Regions from separate parts of the Homo sapiens genome. Here region 2 is linked to region 1. The links are contacts of gene promoters, found by promoter capture Hi-C in blood cells and fetal thymus (Javierre and others, 2016). All regions are on one chromosome and are shown on one strand. The core of a region is centred on a gene start or on the middle of the fragment in contact, and the rest is flanking DNA. Distances in the headings are between cores, read along the strand shown. Region 1 holds the start of CPN2 (carboxypeptidase N subunit 2). Region 2 overlaps LOC105374284 (a long non-coding RNA gene).

The links. The method cuts DNA at HindIII sites, captures the fragments that hold promoters and counts their contacts. A CHiCAGO score of 5 or more calls a contact.
Region 2: a fragment that was not itself captured here is called in contact with the fragment with the promoter of CPN2 in region 1 in 1 of 17 cell types (M2 macrophages); the score reaches 6.1 in M2 macrophages.

The regions. Positions count from the first base shown.
Region 1 is chr3:194,349,988-194,352,691 of GRCh38, reverse strand. CPN2 (carboxypeptidase N subunit 2) reads left to right here and starts at 1,364. Exons shown (of 2, transcript NM_001080513.4): 1 at 1,364-1,450. RefSeq lists an enhancer at 1,039-1,888. The HindIII fragment of the contact is 6,903 bases long and covers 1-2,704 here.
Region 2 is chr3:193,833,507-193,836,210 of GRCh38, reverse strand. It overlaps LOC105374284 (a long non-coding RNA gene), which reads left to right. Exons shown (of 4, transcript XR_924841.3): 2 at 2,459-2,572. Among named protein-coding and RNA genes, the nearest start is that of LINC02038, 9.2 kb to the left of the region's middle. RefSeq lists an enhancer at 1,222-1,281. The HindIII fragment of the contact is 2,760 bases long and covers 4-2,704 here.

The DNA.
Region 1 (2,704 bases), core at 115-2,614:
CTACACACACGAGACATACTCATGCATATACACACCCACTTATACCACACACACCCCTACACCCACTTACACACACCCACTCACACATACACCCACTTACACACACTGCACACCTACACACACGCACTCACCACACACACCCCTACACCCATTCACACATATACCCACTCACACCCCCCACACCCACACGCACGCACTCACCAAACACTCCCCTACACCCACTTACATACCCATTCACACATACACCCACTTACACACGCACTCACCACACACACCGCTACACCCATTCACACATATACCCATTTACACACACACACCCCACACCCACACGCATGCACTCACCAAACACTCCCCTACACCCACTTACACACGCACTCACCACACACACCTTTACACCCACTCACACATACACCCACTTACACACACATCACACATGTGCTCTCACCACACACACTCCTACACTCACATACACACGCCCACTCACATATACACCCTCTTTACATACCACACCCCCACACACGCACTCACCACACACACCCCTACACCCACTCACACATACACCCACACACGCACCCACACACGCACTCACCACACACACACCCTACCCACGCGCGCACACACCCACTCACACATACACCCACTTACACACACAACACACCCCCACACATGCACTCACCACACACCCCCTACAGCCACTCACATTTACACCCACTTACATGCACACCCCCAGATGCACGCACTCAGCACACACACACTCCGTGTGTCTTGCAGCCCTGGTTCCACACCTCCGGAGATGGGAAAATCCCTCCCTTCCAAAGCAGCATCTTTCGTCCTCGGCCAGCCCTGAGTGTGTGAGCGCTCCTCTCCATATTGGGCCCCAATTCATCTCCCTATAGCTTTTCCCCCTTCTAATTCAGGAAGGGTTTAGAAAGTTCATTCATTAAACAAGCAAACAAACACAACAAGACAAAACAACAAATCCACAGCCCTCTTGAAATGCCTCCGGGCGCTGAGAGCCCAGCAGGGGCCTGAGGCTGAAGGCAGGCTCCCAGTCCCTCTGCCTCTGCTCACAGGTATGGGTGTGAGCGTGGACCCCATCCCAGGCCTCACCAACCCAGCCGCCTGCGGGAATCTCTAGAGCTTTCTGAGTGTCCTCGGGGTCCTGAAGGTGCCAACCCTGCAACCTCGGTGGGATTTTGGCCCCGGCAGGGCTCTGTACATGGGAGGAGTTCAGGGTCATTTTGTAATCTTCAGAGGCCTTGCCAAGGCCCTCTCCCGTCCTGTGACCCTGGTGACATTCTGGGACGCTGGGGCCACGTGAGGGGAGGAACCACTGCCTGGAACTTTGATCAGCGCTGGGGCTGGATTGAGCTGACCACAGGCCACACCAGACTCCTCTCTGCTCCTGAGGAAGACAGGGCAGCCCGGCGCCACCCGCTCGGCCCTCACGGTAGGCTCCCGGGGTCGCTGAAGGGCTCCAGGGTCTGCAGGGACGTGGGGGCAGGAACGGGAACTTGCGATCTCCCCCGTTTCAGAGCATTCCGCAGCTCCAGGCAGGCTGCGGTTCTGGGGGGCCCCTGCCCCGGGAGGAGAAGTCCCTGAGGTGCTCAGCTAGGGCGCTGCTGGGAAGAGGCAGGAGGAAGGTGGGGCGGGGGTTTGTGAGATGAAGATCTGCCAGTCCTGGCCTACAAGGCTGGTAGTGAGTAGAGGATAAGCAGGGTGACCAGATGTCCAGGTTGGCCTGGTTCTGCCTAGTTTATACTTGTCATCTTGGCATAATAATAATAAATAGTATTACTAATTACTTATTAATCCTATATTAATACTAAATATTATTAATTATTTATTAATATAATTATTGTTTTTTGAGATGGGGGTCTTGTTATGTTGCTCAGGCTGGTCTTGAACTCCTGGCTTCAAGCGATCCTCCCACTCAGCCTGCTGAGTAGCTGGGATTACAAGCGCATGCCACAGCACCCAGCTCAGGCCCAAGGATGACTAGCTCCTGGTTTCCTTCCCAGAAGCGTGCTGGCTCATATAATAAAGTTTGTGGTGAAATAAACCTGCAGGGGGCCACCTTTTATTGAACATTCAGTATGTGCCAGGCGCTGTGTTAAGGGCTTTCTATTTACTATCTTATTTAGCCTATTTATCATCCAATGGAGTGCTAATTTGAACTCTGAGGGCAGAGGTGATAATTAAGTCTGGAAAACCTGAGGCTTAGAGAGTTGGAGTGATTTGCACAAGCCCACACCGCTAGTAGGTGATGGCGTCAGAATCTGATCCCAGCTGGGGGCACTGGCGGAGCTAAAGTGCTTTCCCCTGCTACTAAGCAGGATGAGAGTAAGGCCTGAGATGCGAAGTCACTGAAAGCCACAAACACATTCCTTCAATTCAGCACACAGGGCCTGACTGCCTTCTCAGTGCCTGGCCCCGAGCCAGGTGCTGGGGTGCAGAGCTGCTTGCAGAGACACCACAGCAAGACTGCAGTACCACGGGCTCAGTCGGGTGGGTGCAACTGACTAGAAAACAGAGCGGAAGAGCCCAAACATTCAACACAGTACAAGAGGGATCCGAGGACCCAAGAAAGGGCCGAGCGCGGTGGCTCACGCCTGTAATCCCAGCACTTTGGGAGGCCGAGGCAGGCGGATCACCTGAGGTCAGGAGTTCGAGACCAGCCTGGCCAACACAGTGAAACCCCATC
Region 2 (2,704 bases), core at 134-2,633, 520 kb after region 1:
GCTTGTTAAAAATATAGATTGAAAGCTCTACCCTCTGAGAGTCTACTTTTGTCAGCCTGGGAGAGGACCCAGTGTATTTTGAACAGGTGCTCCAGGAGACAGGATTAGGCAGAATCCAGATTGGGAATCCTACTCTGGACAAGCCTCTCATCCGCAGATGGGAAAACAGGCTAAAGTTGAAGACCCTGGGTCCAAGGTCACCGACTGCCAGGTCAGACTAGACCAGCACTTGGGTCTCCTCATCTCTGGGGTATTGGTCTCTGTCTTCACCGCACTGACAAGTCCTCTGTATGGGAAAGAGTCTTTATTGGAGACTCCAGACGGTGCCTGGAGAGGGACACAGAACTCTGCCATGAGAGAGGTGGTGGGGGCAGTGGAGTTCTGACTGGGAGAAACTGTACAGTCTCCCAGTAACAGTTAACTTAGAGCTGGGCCTTACAAGAGGGTGGGCAGGATTCCTTAGAATAAGTAGGTTATTGGGAATTTAATAAGCAGATGGGGGTGGAAGAGGATTCCAGGTGGAGACAACAGCTTGAGCAGAATCCTGGCTGGTGGTGGGACTTTGTAGGCAGAGTGAGAAAAGATGGCAGCCCCATGTGGCTGCCGCAGGCCTCGTCCGGGACACTGAAGCACGGCAGGTGCACTTGGAGTTGAGGCTTGAATGGCAGGTTGGGGCTGAAATTCTGTTGTAAACCCTAAAGCCTCAACAACACCCCTGGGCACATAGAGATGCTCGATGAATACCTCATAAAGCCATTTGATAGCTCGCTCCAATTTTAAGAAGCAAAGAATGAGTTGAGATGTTTGTAAATCATCAGAGAGAGATGGCTCCTTATGACTCATGGCACCCAATTTGGAGTAAGGAGAATCTGCCTCAGAGGAAAAAAACTGTGTACCCCAAAATCCTACCAAGAAAGAGGTTCCCTCTGCTCACATTTCCACTGAGCTCTTCCAGCACCCTGGCATCTATATTTTTTGGCTCCTGGTGCCTTTTTTTTTCTTTTTTTTGAGACGGAGTCTTGCTCTGTCACCCAGGCTGGAGTGCAGTGGCATGATCTTAGCTCACTGCAACCTCCATCTCCTGGGTCCAAAAGTGATTCCCCTGCCTCAGCCTCCCGAGCTGTTGGACCACAGGCATGCACCACCATGCCTGGCTAATTTTTTTGTATTTTAGTAGAGATGGGGTTTCACCATGTTGGCCAGGCTGGTCTCGAACTCCTGACCTCGTGATCCGGCTGCCTTAGCCTCCCAAAGTGCTGGGATTATAGGTGTGAGACACCTCACCGGCCTTGCTCCTGGTGCTTTTAATGCACGCGAAGGAGAGGTCAAAAAAACACAAGGTGGAAGTGGGACTTTCCTGGGTGATTCAGAGCAGTGGTTGCAGGTTTGACTGTGCTGGGAGTCAGGTGAATAGAGCATGCTCTACCCCCTCTTATCAGCAATCAGCCATCATGATACAGGCTTTTCCTGAGGGCACAGGCAGATGCCAAGTAGGCACAGAGTCAGATAAGTGCAGTCCCAGTTCATGCCAGAGGCTGTCCCAGGCCCCACCCGCGACCTCACACCACCTCTTGCACACTGCTCTTGGGTCCCAGGAAGGAGTGTGGCCTCTTTTTAAGGTGACCGTCTCAGGCAGCTTGCACTCTTGTGCATGTAATATGAGGTGGTTGCTGTGTTAGGGTCCTGGAGGATATCAGGAAGGGAAGAGGTGCTGAGAGATGCTTAAAAACCTTTCACTCTGAAAGGTGGGATGGGCTGCTGCACAGACACATACTGAGTGGGGTGGGATTGCCTGGGGGTGCAGGAGATGCAAGGGACCGTTCTAAGGAAGCTCCCAGGTTCCAAAGGAGCAGCAGTGCTTTCCTGGCTGGGTTGCTGAGAAGGCATTAGGGCAGGGTAGCTTTTGAGTTGGAACTTGAAGATGGAGATTTGGAAGTGACCGATGGGAAGAAGCAAGGGAATGGCCTGAAGAAAGGGAGAGAGAATGAACATTCCAGGCCTAACCACCAGTCCTCGGCCCCAGTTCTTCTGCCTCCTGCAGGGACATGAGGCAGAGCCTCTCTGAGCATCCGCACTGTTCAGATCACAGTTCTAGGCGCTGACCTGTTTATAAACTGAGTAGTGGCTAGACCCTGCCTTGTAGGAGCTCAAACACTTAGGTACACCAGGATAGCTCTGATTGAAACCAGACTGGTATTTTTCTCTGAAGGGCCCTGTTCCTCACCTGGTCAGTCTTGCCTCTCATGATCCCACACCCATGAGTCCTCCCCTCATGCAATCGACTCCCCTAGCCCTGTAGAAAGCTGTGCTTTCCTTGCCTCATGGCGCTAGCTTCTGCTGTTGCCTGCATCTAGAGTGCCCTTCCTGCCATGTGTGACGGTCCACATCTGCCCATGAGGCCTGAGTCCAGTCCCGCCTTCACTATGACATGACCATGCCGATCTTCATCCCTCCCCAGCCCACCAGGCAGAAACATCTCTCCCGTCTTTGAACTTCACCACGCCGTGCATCTTCCTCTGGGTGTGCAATCGTCACCTGCGTACATGATTGATTCTGCCCCCAACACTAGACTGTGAGTACCCTTTGCGGGCAGAGCTATGTGTCCTTATCACCAGAGTCTTGCACAGCACTTAATAGATGCTCAGGAAACATCTTTGTCAGCATAGTATAGCTGGATGTAGAAATCTCTGAAAACATAGAGGCC